Regions from separate parts of the Homo sapiens genome. Here region 1 is linked to region 2. Evidence: promoter capture Hi-C in human tissues and cell types (Jung and others, 2019). All regions are on one chromosome and are shown on one strand. The core of a region is centred on a gene start or on the middle of the fragment in contact, and the rest is flanking DNA. Distances in the headings are between cores, read along the strand shown. Region 1 overlaps MCC (MCC regulator of Wnt signaling pathway). Region 2 holds the start of MCC (MCC regulator of Wnt signaling pathway).

Region 1 (4,792 bases), core at 1,725-4,224, 320 kb before region 2:
CCAGTCAAACTGCTCAGGTGTGGTGCCAAGGGGGTTAATGTACAAATTCAGAAGCTCTATATGGGGTCACATTCTGGCCATGGGGAGACACAAGGGTAGGTTTCTTAAAATGCATTGACTTGACCTCTTCCCCAAGAGCAGTCACCTTTTGAACTGCTGTGGGATGACCTGGGAAAAAAACAGAAAGCTCTGCAATCAGGCACTCTGTGTGAGTGTTTGTAGTCAACAATCAGAGGGCTGTCTAGAAAACAAAATGCCTCATTTCTTTAATAGTAGCTATTCAGGCAGCAAGAGGCAATTTAAAGACTGGCCAGCAAAGTGCACTGTTTGGGAGATCGGCATAAATGATAACATTTCTATTCTACTCCAGCTTTTATGCATTGCTCAACTTCACATTGCTTAAATAAAGTACTTCCTTCTGGGGATGGCAAGTACATGATACCTCAGCTACAGCTACTATGGTAGAATTAGATGGATATACCCCACACATCTAAGCTCCAATACAAAATTCTTAGGGATTTTTAGTAAGATGCACAAATGAGTATTTTTAAGCACAAAGTCATGGGCAGGTCTGGTCTTCATAGAAAGAAGCTTGACCATTGATGGTAGTGTCTTAATCTAAATTTCTTTTTTCTTCTTTACAGCACCTACTTCTTTTAAACAAGGACAGATGGAGCCATAGGGTGCTAACTGGTCCCTTTACTCCTTTCACTTTTTTGTCCTTTTCTTCAATGGACTTTACTTCTAATCCATGGCAGAATCATCCTCTCCTTGTAGAATTGGGCAATATACCATATTCCTACCTCCTTAGGCAAGAAGGGACATTTCCAAAATTTTCTGATAAACCACAACTGCATGAATGGTGAGAAGCTTGGATGCTTTTTATTTCTGTGGCGTCATTAAAGTCCCACAGTACCCAGCCTTTGCTATGCACACCCACCCATGTCCCTATCTGCTTGTGGGAAGCTAATATTTACTCTACCCACTTCCTAGGGATACCGGGGTCTCGGGGCATTCCTATAAGTGTTGTTTGTTAAAAGCACTACAAAAATGTTACAGTTCAAGGTAGTATTTACTGACTTTTATATATAACTCTCCTTACTGGTGTTCTTAAAATTCATCTCTAACATACTTTATTATGTTTGCCTCTGTTTACAAAATTTGACAAGAAGTTATAGACTTTTCGTGATGTGGTCAGTAGTTACAGTATAAGCAAGCAACTCATATGTTTTGCTCCCAGAAAAGAGCCCTTGGGAATACTTATCTCTAAGGGCAAGACTTGAAATCTGAGAGTCAGATCCAAATATTGCCAGATGGCTGGCAATACCTTTAAGCTGAAGAGTGGGTGTTTGGCTCCCACACTGGGCGTTCTGCATCCAGAACTGAGACTCTGTGGAAGCACCGAGTACATGCGTCCCTAAAGCTTTGGCTTCAGTGGCTCTCCTGAACCATTTCTGTTTGTCAAAGGCATGTGACCATGTCCTGGCAGTTCACTCAGATATCTGCCCTCCACACAAAAATTTGATCACAACTGCCTACATCCACAAGAAAGCTCCTGAGTCAAGTTTAGCAGAGTGCTATCACAGCATGGTGCAAGATAATTTCCCATCAGACAGGCAGCCATTCTCTTGAACCTAAAGACAAAAGGAGGAAGCATAGAAAATAGAGCTGTTTCATCACTTGGGTACTTATGAGTTTACATCTCTGCCCCAAAATGTATTAAGCTTCAGTCGGGCAATTACCTAACAAGGGCAAAAATGCACAGAGACAAGCAGAAGGCGGAAACCTCTTATTTTTTAATTTTTGAGACAGAGTGTCACTCTGTTGCCTAGGCTAGAGTGTAGTGCCACGACTCGGCTAACTGCGAACTCTGTCTCCTGGGTTCAAGCTATTCTGGTGCCTCAGCCTCCTGAGTAGCTAGGACTACAGGCATGCACTATTACACCTGGCTCATTTTTGTATTTTTAATAGAGACAGGGTTTCACCATGTTGCCCAGGCTGGTCTTGAACTCCTGGCCTCAAGTGATCAGCCCATCTTGGCCTTCTGAAATGCTGAGATTAGGGGCATGAGCCACCGCGCCTGGCCCTGGAAAGTGGAAACCTCTTTAACCCAGAACATCTAATTGGTGGCTCTGTGGCCTGTATCATTTCACAGGTGGTTACCGGGCAGCCTCCAAGAACGGAAGCAGCTGTGGCAAGGGAATTCTCCAGAATCTGTGAGGTTTCTAGCTACGAAGAGCTTCAGTGATATCTGCTTGTCACCAGCAAGTCCTGGAACTCATCAGTAACTGACCCTACTACATGAGCCCCTACATAAGGAAGGCTCTCCCTTCTCACCCTCATGATCCATCTCCCATGGTTCTTAGCAAACCATCAGTGCCATGTTTTGACCAAGAAAAAGTAAAATGGAAAGCTATCCAAATGTTGACTGACTTCAGGTACTATGGGAGCACTGAGGGGGAAAAGAACTGTTATGTAGGGGAAGGATTCTATATGAGAACAGGTAGGACCCTTTTCTCCAAATGTAGCAGTGGAAGAGAAAAGAGACACATACCAATGGACAGTTCATACCCAATAGACACAGTTCAGCTCACACAATCCAGGCACCTGACTTAATATTGATCAAGTCTCACTGGATCACTTAAGACAGGATTCAGAGGTGACAGCAATGTTTTTGTCTGTCTGAACACAAAACAACTCAAAAAAGGGTCTCAGGCATCAAACTCTCACCTCTTTAAGGTTATTTAACAGCCTAGGCAAAATTTTGGAGGTTAGAACAACTATTCAGCTGCTTTAGCACTTCATTTGCATAGAGAACAAGCTTCATTTTCCCTTCTCACTGTACTTGGTCAGCCTCAAGTTGCTATTTCCTATAGCTTTACAGCTGAAAACTCTACTCTGCCATGCACATCCTCTTCTTTTAAGTAACCTCGTTTGACTAAAAAGGCTTTGGGGAGGCAAATGTGAAATGTTCTTTCCCCACCTCTTACACACTTTGACATAACACAGAACAAATCAGGTGACGAGAAAGACTCCACCCATGGCCATCTGTCCATCTTAACACAATTACCTATGTGCTGGGCGTACCATAACTTAGCCAACAGCCAATTATAGAATGTGTAACCAATTTTCCTTGTTGTATATTGCTACAATGAAGAACCTTAGAACAAATTCGTGGAAATAGAGTTAATTATCTGGCCAAGGCTTCTGACTGTGAAATTGCCTTCTACCGAAAGCTATTGCAATATATATTTCTCCCAGCTGTATCTATTTCACTTTACTCCTAACATGTGTAGATATATCACATATTTTTTTTTTGCCAATTTGATTCCAAAATAGTCTTCATTTTCTTGATTATTTCAGGATAAACTTTTTGTCGTAAATCTACTGGACACATGAATTTGTTTTTTAATTGCCTGTTTATGTTCTTTGCCTGTTTTGATAGGATGATTTTTTAGAGTTTGATGTATATAACAGATATTAACTTTTCACCAGATACACTGCAAATACTCTTTCCCAGTGAACTGTTCGTCTTTTAATTTATATAGCATTTTATCACATCTGTATGTTTCATATTTTTATGTAGCTTCCATAAACCTTTTCCTTAACAGATCCTCTCTCTGATTTTTGTTTAGAAAGACATCCTCCACCCCACTCAGATTCCATAGCTACCAACATTTTCTTCAGTGTGGTTTTCTTTTATGTGGTCATTTTTTAAACCTTTTATTCATCTGGAATTTCATGGCATACATGAATTAGAAATCAACTTTGTACTTTTCATTTATTGTTTGTCCTATTACTACTGAATAATTATAGCTACATCTTTATGTTACTCTAAATGACAATATTATGTTTAATGTTGCATAGTGTAATATCTCCCCCTTTGTTTTATTAAAAATAATATTTTAGCTATTTGTTTATTCTTCCTGATAAATATAAGGTCACTGTAAAGATTTGTTTTGAAATCCCATGAGGCTCTGGATCACAACACCACTAAACTTCTATTCTCCCCCAATCAGTGTAATCATGTGCATGACTGAATCCCATCTAATAACATGAGCACTCCATTTATCAAATTGTATTTTTCTTTGCAGAGGCTCTCTTTAACCTAGACATAAATTCCTTGAGGACAAACTTTATTTCTGTTTTCTCAGTATATTCTATTCCTAGTAGCTAGTACAGTGTACTAGAATGAATGAAATCAAAGTGACCTAGAACATTTGTCTTTAACATCTTATTTAGTATTTCAAACCCCAATTAGCTAAAACAGCACCATAACCCTGAATGCACTTGGTGTGTGTAACTCAGCAAAGGTCTAAGTGCAGGGATTTACAGCCCACCACACCACTCTAACAGCATAACCAATTCCAAAGACAGAGACCTTTCTACATTACTGCAACAGCAACACAAAGGGGAAATGAACATGGAGGGTAACACTGGGTAGATTAAGATGAACCAAAATCAACAGAACTGGAACTCATGCTTGAGAACTACAGAAATGTGTCTAGAATGAGGTATATCACTGCCATGGTGAAGTAAAGAAGTCAGAACACTGCTTTAAAAAGTCCTAGACCCAATGCTAAGAGAGATTTAGGACATTGAGATAGCAAAGATCCAAGGTAGGGGTGGGTAGACACAGAAATATCCTAGGTAAAAAAGACCTGAATCAATGTTCCCAACCTGTCTTCTTCCTGGCTCCTTGGTAAAGGGACTCAGCTAACAAAAACCAATTCACTGGTGGAGGCTGGATGGAGTCATTGTGAATCGTACCTACACTGCTGGTATGGATCAC
Region 2 (5,284 bases), core at 2,257-4,756:
TCTGCTGCCCAAATCCAGCGGGGTCCCAGCCGCAGTTTGGAGCTACTTGATCATAGCTTTCTGTTCTACCTTAACTATTGATGGGGATGATTCTGGGTCCCTTTTATAGGCTAAAGTTCCTTGGCAGAAGCAGCAATTCCAAGAATCTAGTTAGCTGATGCCTTTTTTGTCAGCCTGATAGGAAGACTGGGCCAAGAGAATATTGAAAGCACAAAGCACCACCCCTTACCTCCCTGACATTTCCCCTCACGGCCCAGTTTCTCTTCCACTTATCCTTCCCCCACACTTAAGATTTCCAGCCTACTCCTGTTTAGAATGAGGGTTCAGCGGAGGACCAGAGCAAATATACTTGAATGTGGATTATCATGGGATGGGGGGTTTATTATAGGTATTAACCGCTACTTGCCCACCCAATATCTATTTCCTGCTCTTAGTAACAGAACCCAGATTTTGTTTAGGAGGTAATGTGCCTAGTTGAATTATATGCTTCCTCGGACTCTACTGAAGTAGGCATGGTTAAGTGATGTAGTTTGACCAATAAGATGTCAATTAAGGGATTTGGGAAAGCTCTGCTTTAATGATACAGGCACAACTTATTTCCACTTCCTTTTACATCTTCTTCCCTAGAATTTGGGGATGAAGAGGGAGACAGGGCAATCACCTTTGGACTATGAGATAACCATGAGGATGAATGCTTTATGTGAAAAATGGTGTTGGAGAAAGGTAGAAGGTAGCTGGGGACTGACACCACCGCAGAGCTGCTGCCCCAACCTAGATAGCCTACCTCCAGATTTCTACTAGGTGACAAAGCCAACCCTTACTTGACTATGGTTAGGTTACTGTGATGACATATAGTCATCTGAAATTCTAACAGATACAGCTGTCTACCAGGAACATAAATTTAACGTCTTTAGATGAATCCAAAGTTTTTAAGGTTTTAATGTTAAAAAGTCCAACTCTCATGTCTGATAGAACAGGAATGCACAACCCTCCAAACCACATCACCCACTACAGAGTGGTAAGTACAGGTCATTAAATGAAAGCAGCACAGAAAAGTGGCTTCAGAGAGGGAATCATTTAATGCCCCTTACCTTCATTAGCCCCATTCCCCAAGTCTTACCACATAAACGTAAATTCCAGGTAAAACTGTGCTTACCAGGTAAACACACTTCCAGACAAGTTCCTTGTTGCCCTAGATTGCCATCCCTAAACTTCTCCTACATGGCAATTCTGCCACAGCATAATTTTCAGGGCAGCTCCACCCACAGTTAAAGTTATGATTTAGGGTTCATTACTACACATACCTTGAAACTTTTAAGCAGACACATTAAAGTAATGCAGCTCAAGGAATGTTAACAACTTTTTCCACTTTTGCCCCAGCCAGTTTCTACTCTAATCCAAAACGGCTTCTTTATCACCACCCACTTTACTCAAATTACGCTTACAGAATTCATTATCCTCCCGGGTAGAATCACCGAAAATAATGTGAGCATTTATATAGAAAGTGTAGTTCAGATAAAGCAATATATTAATAGGCCAAATTAGAAAAGGATAGCACGCTGCTAGTTTTCTGTATGCACTCTTGCCCGTGTGAAATTAAACTTTTTTGCATCCATGCGGGGAGCGGTGGCTCAGGCCTGTAATCTCAGCGCTTCCTAAGGCCGAGGCGGGCGGATCACTTAGGGTCAGGAATTCGAGACCAGCCTGGCCAAATTGTGAAGCCCCTTCTCTACTAAAAATACGAAAATTAGCCGGGAGTGGTAGTGGGCACCTGTAATCCCAGCTACTCGGGAAGCTGAGGCAGGAGAATCTCTTGAACCAGGAGGCGGAGGTTGCAGTGAGCCAAGACCACGCCACTGTACTCCAGCCTGGGTGATAGAGCGAGATTCTGTCTAAAAAAAAAAAAAATTGTATCCAAAGTTGGAGTTTGCCTTTATTATTGCAAATGAGATAATAACCTTTCAAGTAGGAAAACAACAAAAAGGAAAACTATATAATGAAATTTCTTTTACTCCCAGAACCAAAATAACGAGACTTCCAGATAGAAATTTGCATGGAGTCAATCAGAATTACATATTATTTTCATTTCCGAACAGAATTACTCCATCAAGTTTTCTGATATCTTCCTAATGTTTCTCAGTAAAACTTTAGCAAAGTAATAAAAATTCACCTAAGAATGATCAAAATTGCGTTGAGTCCCAAATAAATAATTTTTTTTATTTTAAGGGAAAAATTCCGCACTTTGCTTTCTTTTTTTTTTTTTTAGGTAGGCAGGGACAATCAGGAAGCAGCCCCGGATTTTCAGAAACGATCTTTAGCATCACCAAGACATAGACTAAAGAAACATGTAATGCACAACTTAGGCTGCTCCTTCATCCAAGGCAATTCAAATTTCCACGGATACCAAGTCTTCAATGGCCGGTGTCAACCATTCAATAGAAGCATACCAGAAAATGTTGCGATTGCCTTCTTCACCACAAGAGTCTAAGTGACACAAATTTGGGCAGAAGTAATTATTTGGCCAAGCCGGGAGGCAGGAAGCTTAAATACCGCCTCTGTAGGAAGTGCGGGGGATCCGAAGCAAACACCCCAAAGTTTGTTTGTGAGTGGAGGCGCGGAGGCGCCCGGAGCCACGCCGAAGCTCACCTGGTCAGCGCACAGAGCCGGGTAGGAGTCGGGTCTAGCCCTAGTTTGCTCCTGAGCGCTTCGTTCCTCTCAGGCTACTGCGTTTAAATCAATACTGGGTGGCAAACGATACCCATTCTTTGGGCTCTGAAGTTTGGAATTCATGGGTTCTGCGGCACAAGAAAGTTTCTTCACAGGTTATTTCCCTGTCCGAGGCTGTCGCTTAGCTCATCTCCTCCCGGTGCGGCCCTGGGGTGTCCACCAAGCCGCCGGGCAGATCGCTGCCCCGTGCTGCGGCATCTTGATGCCCAGGACCCCGAGGCTGTGGGGCAGCCCCTCCTACCTGGGACAAGCGGCCAGAACTCCTTTTCCCACAGGGAAGAACACTCCAAGCCCCCGGAAGAGTGCGCATCCTAAGGAGATGTCTCCCAACGCCTAGACAAAGACAGCGCTGGGAAAAGTTGGACCAACTGGCACCCCCGCAAGGCGAACAGAGCAGTCCCCTCGGCCTTCGTGGCCGAGCCGGCTACGCGCTCTCGGAGTCGCGGCCAACTTTTCCCGCGAGCTTCTGAGCAACTTGCCGCAAGTTGGGGCGAGGGGGCAGAGCAGGGGTCAAGGGCGCGCGGAGGGACTGATCTCGCTCCTGTCGGTTTCCTCGTACCTCCCCGCGTACCTGCTGATGTATCCGTCCCCGTCGCCGTCGCACGTCTGGAAGAGGCGCCGCATCCTCTCCTCCTCGCCGGTGCTGGACGTGTCGCTGCTGCTGCTGCTGCTGCCGCTGCCGCCGCCGCCGCCGCCGCTGCTGGAGCTCCCCGCAGCCGCTGCCGCCGCGGCCGCCATCATGCGCCCGCTCCCTACTTGGGAGGAGGAGTACGCGCGACCGCAGCTGGAATCCGCGCGGCGCGCAAGCTGCCTGCAGCCCCGAACTTGCCTGACAACGGAGCATGCCCAGTGGCCGCCGGGGCGCTCCGGGCGAGGGATTCCACCTCTCCGGGTTTTGCCCGGACTGGGAAGATGGGCGCTCTGGAATCGCCCGAGGAGGCACCTCAGGGAAGAGGGAGGAGGGGAAGGTGGCTGGAAGAGTCAGGGAGCTAAGGGTGGCAACGGGAACACAAGAGGAGGCAGAATACACTGGAAGCCCCCGGGAAGGGTGTCAGCATTGTGCATCCGGCAACGACGCGGGCCCGGGACACTTGGGGACGCTTCAGGCAGAGGGCAGGTGTACTCCCGGCAGACCTTCTCCGACCGCCCGGAGTCATGGCTTCCTTTTCCAGAGAAGCTATATAAACACTCTCCTTCTGCAAACTCAAAACGGTGCTTGTAATCCCACTCTCCAGGATTGTTCCGGGTTCTGTACCCATAGCCACCAATGAGAACCGGAATGACTGGCCTTTTTATGAAATTTTGACACCTGTCAAGAAACCTGGCCCTCGCAGCCCTCATCTTGGCTCCCACTCTGTACTGGGAAGAGTCTGCACGCTGTGTGGCATTGTGTACGTTGGGTCAATTTCTGGAAACGGCTCACTCTACTGGCCAGGCATCACTAGAATTTCCCCCAACAGCTTTAATAATGCCAAGAGCGAACATAATAGATGGTCTCATTTGATCCACACTACAGACCTGGAAGATGCCTCTTTTATTATCAATCCTACGACTTAGGAAGTATTAATAGATAAGTACCTCATAGAGTTATCTTACATATAAAAGGAGAGCAGACATAATGCAGTTAGGACAATGTCTGACACCTAGTAAGTGCTCAACAACTGTTAGCTCTCATTGTTCCCAATTTACAGGTAAGAAAACTGAGGTACCAAGACCTGCTCAAGGTTCCAGGTTTAGTAAGTGTTAGGGCAGAGGCAAGCCCGGGCAGCCTAACTCCAGAGCAGGAGCCTTTAAACACTGCACTATTCCCCCATAGCCAAAGGGAAACCACAGTGAAGCAATTTGTGGTTTCGTGAATGACTCATTATTCTGTCCTGGATTTTCTGCCAGAGAGGCGTGTGAAGTTCTCTGGTGGTTTTAAAATATGTCCACAGATTCTTTGGTGCACCCCTCATCAAGAGGTGGAGTCTGTTGCTTCCCCTAAACCTGGATTGGACTTGTGACTGCCTTGACTTCTGAGACTAGGTTAGAAAAGGCAATGCAGATTGCACTTGGCTCTCTCCCTTGGGACACTTACCTTTGAAGCCTTGAGCTGCCTGAAAAGAAGTTTGGCTACCCTGAAGCTGGAGAAACCATGCAGAAAGACCATGTAAAGAAAAAAGGAGATGACCAAAGAGCTACAGCTGTTCTAGCCCTGGATCTTAGAATCTTCCCAGACTAGGTGCCAGACATGAGTGAGAGATGATGCTAGCTCTAGATGCTGCAACTGCATTGGAGACCCTGAGCAAAACTGGCTAACCAACCCCCAGAGCTGTGAAGATAATAATTAAAAATTGTTGTTTTAAGCCATTAAGTTTTGAGGTGATTTGTTATGCAGCAATATATAACTGGAACAAGTCCATATGTCTTGGGAATGTCTGCTAGGTCAGAAGGAAGGAATCTCTGCTCTCTTTCTCCTCCTCTCCACCCCATCTACCTATTCCTACTTTACTTCTTTATTATTCTCTAAGTTCCCAGTATTTCAGGGCACTAAAATCATAGATTCATGAGTTAATGA

The links. The method cuts DNA at HindIII sites, captures the fragments that hold promoters and counts their contacts. A contact is called where the count stands out against the background at its distance.
Region 1: a contact is called between a fragment that was not itself captured here and the fragment with the promoter of MCC in region 2, in 1 of the 25 tissues and cell types used here (mesenchymal stem cells).

What each region holds. Positions count from the first base shown.
Region 1 is chr5:113,169,569-113,174,360 of GRCh38, forward strand. All of the region lies in intron 3 of MCC (MCC regulator of Wnt signaling pathway), which reads right to left. Among named protein-coding and RNA genes, the nearest start is that of DCP2, 200 kb to the left of the region's middle. The HindIII fragment of the contact is 4,489 bases long and covers 731-4,792 here.
Region 2 is chr5:113,484,947-113,490,230 of GRCh38, forward strand. MCC (MCC regulator of Wnt signaling pathway) reads right to left here and starts at 3,507. Exons shown (of 19, transcript NM_001085377.2): 1 at 3,299-3,507. The coding sequence starts at 3,468. RefSeq lists an enhancer at 3,406-3,700. The HindIII fragment of the contact is 5,374 bases long and covers 1,191-5,284 here.